Linked DNA regions of Homo sapiens: regions 2 and 3 are each linked to region 1. The links are contacts of gene promoters, found by promoter capture Hi-C in blood cells and fetal thymus (Javierre and others, 2016). All regions are on one chromosome and are shown on one strand. Each heading gives the region's core, a stretch centred on a gene start or on the middle of the fragment in contact. The rest is flanking DNA. Distances are from core to core; before and after follow the strand shown.

Region 1 (3,356 bases), core at 744-3,243:
GAGAGAGACAACAGAGATAGTCAAATTATGAAGGAGCTTGTATGTCAAGCTACGTGACATAGATCTGACACTGAGGGCAGTGAGAAATCTTGGCTTTCTAGGGGGCAATTTAATGGATGAAGAGATCTATCTGTGTTAGAAGTAATCTGCCTAGAGTGGGGAAGTTAAGGCTGAGCAGAAGACAAGAACACCCAGAGAAACTGTAAAATGTCAGAAGGGGTGAAAGCTGAGGGTAGAAACCTGACGAACAGCAATATTTAGAGTGGATATGCAAGAGAAGCCAAAGAATGAGACTGAGAAGAAGAAATTCGAGAGGTAAAGAAAAAGAAATCAGGTGGCTTCATGGGAAACAGGGAGGAGGGAGCTTTAAAAAGGTAATGGACACTACATTAATTGATGCTGGAGACTAGAAAGAAAATGGATAGAGCAACAAAGAAATCGTAAAGTTGGAAACAATTTAAATTACCATCAACAGAAAAACAGACACATTACTGTATGTTTCTACATGGAACTCCCATATAACAACAGGGAAAATAAATGAATATCTCTATATGTCAACACGGATGGACCTAGTAAAGGTAACGATAAGTAAAGTAGGAAAAGAAAATATAGAATGTTATATACTGCTTACTTACATATGTAGCAGAAATATAAAGACATACATTGCAACGATGAATACCAAGTTCAGAAGAGCAGTTATCTCAGAGTCAGAGAGTAGTCGTGATTGGGAAGGTGGTTACACAAAGCTCTTCAACAGGAATGGTAATGTTTCATTTATTAAGCTGGTTTATGAATATACAAGCGTTTACTATATTAAGATTTGAGCATGTCGCACATAAAAATAATTGGTGACCATATCTCCGGAATTTTAGAGACGCCTGCATATGTGTGTTGGAAGTAAGTTGGAGTATCCGGAATGCAGTGGGTGGAACAGGAATGCAATAAACACAATGTCTAAGGCTCTACCGGAGGACTATCATTGCTCTAGCAATTGCATACCAATAGAAGGAGAGGTCAATTATCTGGATTCTTCCACTTAGCTTCCACTTAACTTCCCCGTTCCTCAGTTTCCCCTTTTGTAAAGTAGAATATAATAGTATATTCCTTGAGATGTTAGGAGAATGAAATGATTTCATACTTAAACATTGCTTAAAATAATCCCGAGGACATTATTTCAAATAAGTACTAGTTACAAGGGAGTTAGCCAACATCATCGTCAGTACAAAACAAACTGATTCACAGCAAACACAATAAAGTCCTGAATTCATGAAACACTCTTCAATTTGCCAGGAACCGTGTGAGATATGCAGAAACTACAGAAATTAAGGCTTATTTGTAGATATTAACACAGACATAAAAGATTTAATGACCGCAGTTCACGTTCAATCAGCCGTTCCCACATCCCTTGAGTGCAGTCTCTGTGCTGGCTGGACACTGCAAGCACAGACACATTCCTCAGATGTTTAGACTTTTTTTAAAAGTGCGTTGTTACATCCACATTTCACTTTTTATTTTCTTTCTTTTTTTGAGACGGAGTTTCGCTCTTGTCGCCCAGGCTGGAGTGCAATGGCAAGATCTCGGCTCACTGCAGCCTCCGCCTCCCGGGTTCTAGCGATTTTCCTTCCTCAGCTGGGATTACAGGCGAGTAGCTGGGATTACAGGCGCCCGCCACCATGCCCGGCTAATGTTTGTATTTTTAATTGAGACGGGGTTTCGCCATGTTGGCCAGGCTGGTCTCGAACTCCTGACCCCAGGTGATCCGCTCGCCCCCGCCTCACACAGTGCTGGGATTACAGGCGTGGGCCACCGCGCCCGACCACACATTTCACTTTTATTCGGATCGATCAGTAAACTCTTTCGCAAACCCTCAAACTCTCCCGACCACTATCTCAGGTAGCAGCGAACTCACCCGTCCTCAGGAGGCGGGACCTGCGTGCCGACGCACAGCGAGCACGTTGACGTCTTGGCGCACCGTTCCACGGCACCGCCCACCGGCTTGAATCCCGGCGCCTCAGAGGACTATGAGGCGGGCGCCAACTGCTTGGGCCGCAGGGCGGGAGGCAGCGCGGGAGTGGGGCGTTGAGGGGCCGGCCTAGCTTGGGGCTCTGGCCTTGCGTCTTCCGACCGAATCACCGCTCCTGAGCCCGGTGCGGGGCTGCCGCTATCGCCTGGCCGTGGGTGCCGGAGCGGCCGGGTTGCGACTCAGCGTTCTTGGGTGGGCGCGGGCGGCGTCTCCGCGGCGGGCATCCCCCGAGGCCGCCCTCGGGCCATGATCGACTCCGTGAAGCTGCGCCGCGACAGCGCGGCGGACTTCTTCTCCCACTACGAGTACCTGTGCGCGCTGCAGAACTCGGTGCCGCTGCCCGCCGTGCGCGCCTGTCTCCGGGAGGGCGTGCTGGATTTCAACGCCGACCGCCTCCGCGGGGTGGACTGGGCGCCTCTGCTGAGCACCCTCAAGATCAATAAAGACCTGCCCTTGGTCTCCATCAAGAGCTTCTTCCAGCCCTGGCTGGGGGACACAGGTTTGTAGTTCCCGCCTCCAGGGCCCCTCAGTCGGTGCGGCGAAGTGGGTTTTTAGGTGAGTGGTGTCCATTGTCGGGGTATGTGTGCAATAGAAGGGGTGTGCGGCCTGGACACTCACGAGCTAGGTGAGTGGCTTAAGGTCTCTAGGGCTTCAGTGTGCTCATCCGTAACATGGGCTTAATAACGAGACCCAGGTTATGTGCGCCTTCGCAAGGATTCCCTGCGCTGCTGATGCCTGCAGAGCTCTTAGCACAGTTTGGGACATCATTAAACATTTGACAGATGTTACCTATTTTATTGAATGACTTTGATTTGCCTGATAGAGAACTAAGCAGGTAGGAAATTAATACATGTCAGCCTTTGTCTTTTTTTTTTTTTTTTTTTTTTTTTTTTTGAGACACTGTTTCACTCTGTCGCCCAGGCTGGAATGCAGTGGCAAGATCTCGGCTCACTGCAACCTCCGCCTCCCGGGTTCAAGTGATTCTCCTGCCTCAACCTCCCGAGTAGCTGGGATTACAGGCGCGCGCCACCATGCCCGGCTAATTTTTGTATTTTTAGTAGAGATGGGGTTTCACCATGTTAGCCAGGCTGGTCTCGAACTCCTGACCTCAGGTGATCCGCCCGCTTCGGCCTTCCAAAGTGCTGGGATTACAGGCATGAGCCACCGCGCCCGGCCTGTCTTCATTTTTTAAGGTGTATATAAGAAGTTTGTAAAGTGCTTTACAAATACAAGCCATTTGTAAATGTATAGTGGTATAATTAGGGATCCAGACTCTCTGATTATTCGGAAAATATGTTAGGTCAACTATGATATATGACAAAATGCTGTTATT
Region 2 (3,563 bases), core at 440-2,939, 230 kb before region 1:
CTGTAATCCCAGCATTTTGGGAGGCCGAGGCGGGCAGATCATTTGAGACCTGGAGTTCAAGACCAGCCTGGGCAACATGGCGAAACCCCTTGTTTACTAAAAATACAAAAAATAAACTGGGTGTGGTAATGCACGCCTGTAATCCCAGCTACTGGGGAGGCTGAGGCACGAGAATCACTTGAACCGGGGAGGCAGAGGTTGCAGTCAGCCTAGATAGCGTCATTGCACTCCATTCTGGGCTTTAGAGCAAGACTGTCTAAAAAAAAAAAAAAGAAAAAAAAAAGCTGGAGTCCGAACTGCACCATAAACTGCACTTGTAACACTTTGCCAAAGTAGAAAGTACCAACAATCAACTCACTCATTGAGCAAACAAAAAAGCATAATATGCACTAAATGCTATTAGAACACAAGACAAATTACATATCCTGCCTTCAGGGATCTGACAGGTTGCTATGGAGGAACAAATGTGTATAAATCATCACAATTACAAGATGGGGCTGAATTTGCCCTAGCCACCCAAAGCTGACCTCCAACTACAGGTATCTGCACCTCGCTGCCTGAGGACTTTTCTCCAAGGTAGGGATGGCCACCCGAGAAGCCAAAGGTGGCAGGAATTGACAGCCCCCAACTAATGACCATCCAAAGTTGGTATATAAATACTCCAGTTGGCTATGACTGAGCCACTGAACTGCAGCCTGGACGACAGAGTAAGACTCTGTCTCAAAAAAAAAAAAAAAAAATTAATTAAGTTAAATGCTCCAGCTACCTTACTCTTCAGGTGGGACAAATTTACAGCATCACCATTCTCCGAAGTGGGGTCTCTGGACCCATGCCAACAGCATCATTATCACCAGGTGCTCATGAGAAATTCAGACTCTCAGGTCTCACCCCAGACCTGAGTCTGAACCTGCATTTTAACAAGGTCCCCAGGAGATTCTCATGAACATGAAAGTTTGAGAAGTCCTGCGTGACATCATCTCCCAGAGCTTCTCCCCAAGCTTGACCTCCAACTGCCCATTGCCATTAGTGGTTTAATAATGCACCTTTATTGGCTGCCTTCCCTTAGCTATCTCACTTCTCCACTTGCATACCAATACCTCCTGCACATATCAAAAAAACTCAGACATAAACAAACATAAAACGTCATAGGAGTCAACAGAAACTTTGACCACTAGAGGGATCAGAAAAGGCAATGAGAAAGAGGCACCATTTAACATGGGTTTTGAAACACGGTAGGATTTGCACAGAGAGCGATGGAGGAAAAAGCATCCTAGGGGTGGGAGAGAAGAGAGGAAAGCAACAAATATCTGAGGAGGGGAAGGAAAAGGGTTAGTGTCCTCATTTGGCTAAACTGTCAAATACCTCAAGGCAAGCAGTAAGGAATAAGGCTAGAAGAGGGGGTGGGATCAGATAAACTTGACTGACAGATAAACATATCTGGCCTTTATTTCACAATGAATGCAATGTAATTAATGGTTTGGAGAGATGACAAAACTACAATTTTTCTCTTTTTCTGAGACAGGCTCTTGCTCTATCACCCAGGCTGGAGTGCAGTGGGGCAATCATGACTCACTGCAGCCCTCACCTCACGGGCTCAAGCGATCCTCCCACACCCCATGTAGCTGGGACCACAGGTGGGCACCACCACACCCAGCTAATTTTTGTATTATTTGTAGAGATGGTGTTCTTCATGTTGCCCAGGCTGGTCTTGAACTCCTGGGCTCAAGCAATCTGCCCGCCTTGGCCTCCCAAAGTGCTGGGATTATAGGCATGAGCCACTGTACCCACCCAACTGTAATTAACATGGGTTAAGAAAAGTAACCAGAGAGCAATGTGAAAAATGTAGGAAGGGTGGGGAATTAGTGTCTAGAGTGCTCCCCATTGTCTGGGGAAGCGGGAGTTTGCCTTGCCTCATGTGAAGAAGGAGGCCCAATACTAACCAAAGGGTAAATAACTGAGCGTTCTATGTGTGCATAATAATGTCTTACTCACAGTAGTTACCAAAACATATCACGGAAGAAGCAAAATAATAATCACATCAGTGTGCATCTGGATAGTGATCTGTTTTCAAGGAACTTTTACCAACACCATCCCATGTGATCCTCCCAACAAACTTGGTGCAGTAGTGCATGGGTCAAGGTTGCAGTGCCAATACTCTAGCCCAGAGCACTCCACCTTAACCAAGTAGAGGCCTTCAGCAGTTGATGATGGGTATGTGTTAGGCATCCCCACGACTACTCCCCAGGCTCAATGATTCACCTGGAAGACTCGCCCGTCTCAGCATATAGTTGTATCATGGCTACAATGTATTACAAGAAAGCAAAATGCAAAATCGGCCAACGGAAAAGGGTATGGGATGAAGTCTGGAAGAAACTAGACACAAGCTTCCATGGGTCCTCTCCAAGTGGGGTCACATTTAATGCTGCCAACAACCAGTTGTGACAATAAACATGAAATGTCTTAAGTTATTGCACGCAGGCTTACTATGTTAACTCTTTCCTGTACGGGGTCACAAATGGATTCCTGGAACGTGAGTTCTAATAATGCTATTGATTTAAATGCCCTAGCTAATTCCCAGAGGTAAACTGTCATAAATAGGAATTTGAGGGACTTAGTGCAGGTTGGGTATGTGAAATATACATGCAATTTGTTCTAATCTGTCAGTTAATTTCAGAGAATAACACAACATAAAACAAATCCATTATGTGTGTGATAAGAAATATAATTACCTATTTCTATCTGGCTGCAATTATGTCAATAAAAAAGAAGTATACTGCCCCCTGCCCCATAAGATCTCAATTCAGTAGGACTGTCTTCAACTGAGACATAGGATCAACCAAAAACACTGTCTTGTACACACATACCAAAAAATCTTAGAGAAAAATACTCTATCAGGCAATAAGAAGTAAACCTACTGTTGCTTTCCCCACTGTTCTCAGCATATCCCTAATTGGTACTACCAAAAAAAATAAATTATCTGCAATCCCAGGACTAAAACCTTTCCAAGCATCATTCAAACTAGGATAGTGTTTGTTCTTTCATTTCCTTCATTTGATCATGCTTTCAGAAACAATGCTTATCTTAAGGTCTCCTGAAATACGCCTTTTGGAAATTTACTGCAAAGTTATGATGGAAATTGAGTTGTTTTCATATGTGTGTTTAGAACTGTCTAAATGTAACAAAGTCGAGTTTGAGACTTCTAACTCACAAATAGAAGATTTTGCAATGTAATGCACAATTTTCTTAACCTCAGAGATATGGCCTTGGCTTGATGGGGTAAAAGATCACATGAGGTTACTGGATGCATTTCTTGGCCTGTCAGGAGTTCATTTCAGTTCTTTGCTAGTGAGGTTTAGCATTGTGTGTGATGTTAGTCCTCATGAAAATGAGAGATGAGCCAAGTACTCTTTGCAACCTGGAATTGTTCAGCTTCACCAGAGTACTTAGCCAATGCAAGTTCTTCCCACTGTGCAATCTAGGGCTATTCTGATGACTGGTTCTACATTCAGAAGTCAGACTGCACTTGTACCTAAAAAGTAGTAGTACAGAAACTAAGTCTTTAT
Region 3 (3,469 bases), core at 959-3,458, 250 kb before region 1:
TGATTGGAATTCCCTATCACTTCCATATGGCTAGTTAACTGCCTAACCATCCATAAGAGTGATTACAAACTGTGGAATTATGAATTTAACAATTAACTGACTTGATAGATTTGAGGAGGGTGCTCTGTTCTGTGTTTAGGTTCCTGAGGTAGAAAAGTCTCTTGGTATCTGATTTAGGTTCCTACCTGGAAGCTGGGTCACATCAAGCCATCCCAGGCCAATGACTAGCCAACCTACTGCTAATTCTTAGCACAGAAAGATTATACAACCTATGACTACCATTACTGGTAAGCATTTCATACCCACTCATCATGTTTGTCTATGTGCTTATAGAAAGTCTTTTCATTTTTGGCAAAGCAGTATCACTATTCTCAGAGTTTTATAAAAAAGAAATGATTCTGGTCTTTGTAGGGAGGTGTGGGCTCAAATTCCACTCCTGCCACGCAGTTCAAAACAAATTAGAGAAACACTTGACCACTGATGTTGGCGAAGTAAAACAAAAATTTTTTTAATTGAATCCTCTTACTTAAGAATGGCAAGTTAAAGATCAGTCAATTATGGGAATAATGTTATAGGCTTCTGAAACCTCACAGAAATTTTCCACATGGAGAATCTCTTCTACACCTTTTCATGGGGTTATGAGAGAGACATATGACATGGGGGACGGGGAGACCACCATTCTATCTTAGAAGTATGATACAAACAAACATTAGCCTATTCTGAGAAGTAATGTGAACTCCCTGAAAAGCTTTTTCAGAAGTATTTACAGCACCTGAACATTTCAGGGGAATAAAAATGCCATCAAATATTCATTGCACAGTAGTGAAAGATGCATTCTCATTAATGAATCCTCTACCTGTATCGAACTGTTGATTCTATGTTTAAAAAAAAAAAAAAAAAAGTCAAAACCACAGGAAGGGGAACATCACACACCAGGGCCTGTCGTGGAGTGGGGAGAGGGGGGAGGGATAGTAATGGGAGATATACCTAATGTAAATGACGAGTTAATGGGTGCGGCACACACCAACATGGCACATGTATACATATGTAACAAAAATGCACGTTGTGCACATGTACACTAGAACTTAAAGTATAATAATAAAAAAATAAAAAAGTCAAAACCAGTATTAACAAGATAAAAACTTTTTTAGAAGAACCATAACAGAGAAAATACCTACATGGGTCTCTAACTGGCCCCTATATAATGTACCAATGCTTGAATTCATCAATTATTTACACTACCCAGAATTCTGCTGTACTGGGGTAGAAAGGGCTGAAGTAACTGTGGAAACACTGCCTACATAGAAACTGGCACTTTGTTTCTCACTTGCCAGCTAGTTCTATGCAACAGTATGAACTCGTGCATGGTGATAACATTTACATAGTATGTATCTGTGGAGTGCTGAGCATCAAAATCATGCTTTCATAGAAAGCAACTGCGTCATTTTAGGTAAGAGGGCTGACCTATTAGTAGCCAACTCTTGCTGCTAAAAATCTTCTAAAGGACTTGTGTGGATGTAGGTGTTTATTCCCTCCCAAATTCCTCCATGGGTAGCCTCAGTACCTCACCAACCTTTTGGTTCTCACCCTGCTGGGAGATGACTCCTCTGGGCCCCTCCCCTCTGGAACTGAGAGGACTGGTATGGCCTTGAGCCTCTTCGAAGAGCCATTTGCCTTATTCCTCATAGTTGGTGTATGTGTCTTTTACTTCTTTCTTTCAAGGTTGGTGTATTCCTTATTCCTCATAGTTGGTGTATGTTGCCTTTTGCCTCTTTCTTTCAAGGTTCCCCTTACTGTGGCACAGGGTTTGGCTGAGCAGCTCATTTTCTGGCATTTTATGGAAACACAGAAAAGTATCTATGCACTTAAAATCAGCATCACTAGCAGATCTAGTCTTGCCTTTGGCATCACCAGCAGGAGAATTTAGTGACTGAAATGACCACTGACTCTATTCCACTCTTTTAGTGGGGAGGACTCTTTCCTAGGAAGTCACGGTCAGAACTTGCTGTATCCTAAAGGAAGTCCACTCCAAGAGACAGGAAGATTTACCGAGATCCTACTGTGTGGGCATTTTGCTCAGAACTGAGGGATACAGAAATAAAAGATCTAACACGTTGTGCTTTTATTCAAAGACTCTCTCTCTCTCCTCAAAAGTCATCCTGGGTTTTTGCAGCATATGCAAGTAGAATTTTGGAGAGCAAAAAAAAAAAAAAAAAAAAAAAAAAATCACCTAGATGAAGTTGGTCATCTAGGCAGGTAGGGCACAAGCAGAAAGTTTTTGAATTTTAGTTGAAGTACGTAGATTTCTGGGATTTTTTTGCTTTTCTTTTTTTTTTTTTGAGACAGGGCCTCACTGTCACCCAGGCTGGAGTGCAGTGGCATGATCTCGGCTCACTGCAGCCTCGACCTCCTGGGCTCAAGTGATCCTCCCACCTTAGCCTCCTGAGTAGCTGAGACTACTGGCATGCACCACCACGTGGCTAATTTTTCGTATTCTTTGTAGAGATGGGGTCTTGCCATGTTGCCCAGGCTGGTCTCGAACTCCTGGACTCAAGCAATTCGGCCTCCCAAAGTGCTGGGATTACAGGCGTGAGCCACCACATCCAGCCTGAAGTACCTGTTTAACTGTGTTTATTCTTAACTGCCTTAGAGTTGATGAAATAGTTAACAAAGTCCTTGGAAAAGATAAGATTCCCAAAAGTATGAATTCGCATAATTTTTGGTTTCTGTAGAACTCTTACAAACAAGTAGCTCCTTATTGTCTTGAAATACCTTTTTAAAACATTCTCTTTTAAAAAATTCCCTTGGTATAACATTATATAACCAAAAACCTGCAGTTTTAAGAGAAGTATACCCAGGGATTCAGTGCAGGTGCTCTAACGCAGGGGTTCATTCCACATTTTGAGAAACTCTGCTTTACAATGCACAGAGCAGAGCCAGAGAGAGAAACTCCCTGATTCACTTATTATAACTGACAAAGGGACCAGGCTCCCGAGTGAAGAATGGAGCAATCCTCCAACATCTATTCAGGTATTTAAGAGGTGAGAGGAGAAAGCAGAGAATTACAAAATCAAAATGGACTACCATTTGAGGATCCTGATACTATGGCAAGGAAATGGCAATTTTATGGCATGGACATACACTAGTTCCCCCTACATGGTTTTCAAAAGAGTTTGTGGGCCAGGCGCGGTGACTCACACCTGTAATCCCAGCACTTTGGGAGGCCAAGGCAGGCAGATCACAAGGTGAGGAGATCGAGACCATCCTGGCTAACATGGTGAAACTCCGTCTCTACTAAAAATACAAAAAATTAGCCAGGCATGGTGGTAGGTGCCTGTAGTCCCAGCTATAGGCTGGGAGGCTGAGGCAGAAGAATGGCATGAACCCAGGAGGCGGAGCTTGCAGTGAGCTGAGATCTCGCCACTGCACTCCAATCTGGGTGACAGAGAGAGACTCCATCTCAGAAAAA

What was found. The method cuts DNA at HindIII sites, captures the fragments that hold promoters and counts their contacts. A CHiCAGO score of 5 or more calls a contact.
Region 2: a fragment that was not itself captured here is called in contact with the fragment with the promoter of CEP78 in region 1 in 1 of 17 cell types (naive CD4 T cells); the score reaches 5.2 in naive CD4 T cells.
Region 3: a fragment that was not itself captured here is called in contact with the fragment with the promoter of CEP78 in region 1 in 1 of 17 cell types (non-activated CD4 T cells); the score reaches 5.0 in non-activated CD4 T cells.

The regions. Positions count from the first base shown.
Region 1 is chr9:78,234,082-78,237,437 of GRCh38, forward strand. It overlaps CEP78 (centrosomal protein 78), which reads left to right and starts at 1,994. Exons shown (of 17, transcript NM_001330691.3): 1 at 1,994-2,522. The coding sequence starts at 2,270. RefSeq lists an enhancer at 1,723-2,392 and a silencer at 2,018-2,387. The HindIII fragment of the contact is 10,697 bases long and covers 1-3,356 here.
Region 2 is chr9:78,003,555-78,007,117 of GRCh38, forward strand. All of the region lies in intron 1 of GNAQ (G protein subunit alpha q), which reads right to left. Among named protein-coding and RNA genes, the nearest start is that of GNAQ, 26 kb to the right of the region's middle. The HindIII fragment of the contact is 1,386 bases long and covers 997-2,382 here.
Region 3 is chr9:77,981,851-77,985,319 of GRCh38, forward strand. All of the region lies in intron 1 of GNAQ (G protein subunit alpha q), which reads right to left. Among named protein-coding and RNA genes, the nearest start is that of GNAQ, 48 kb to the right of the region's middle. The HindIII fragment of the contact is 2,924 bases long and covers 747-3,469 here.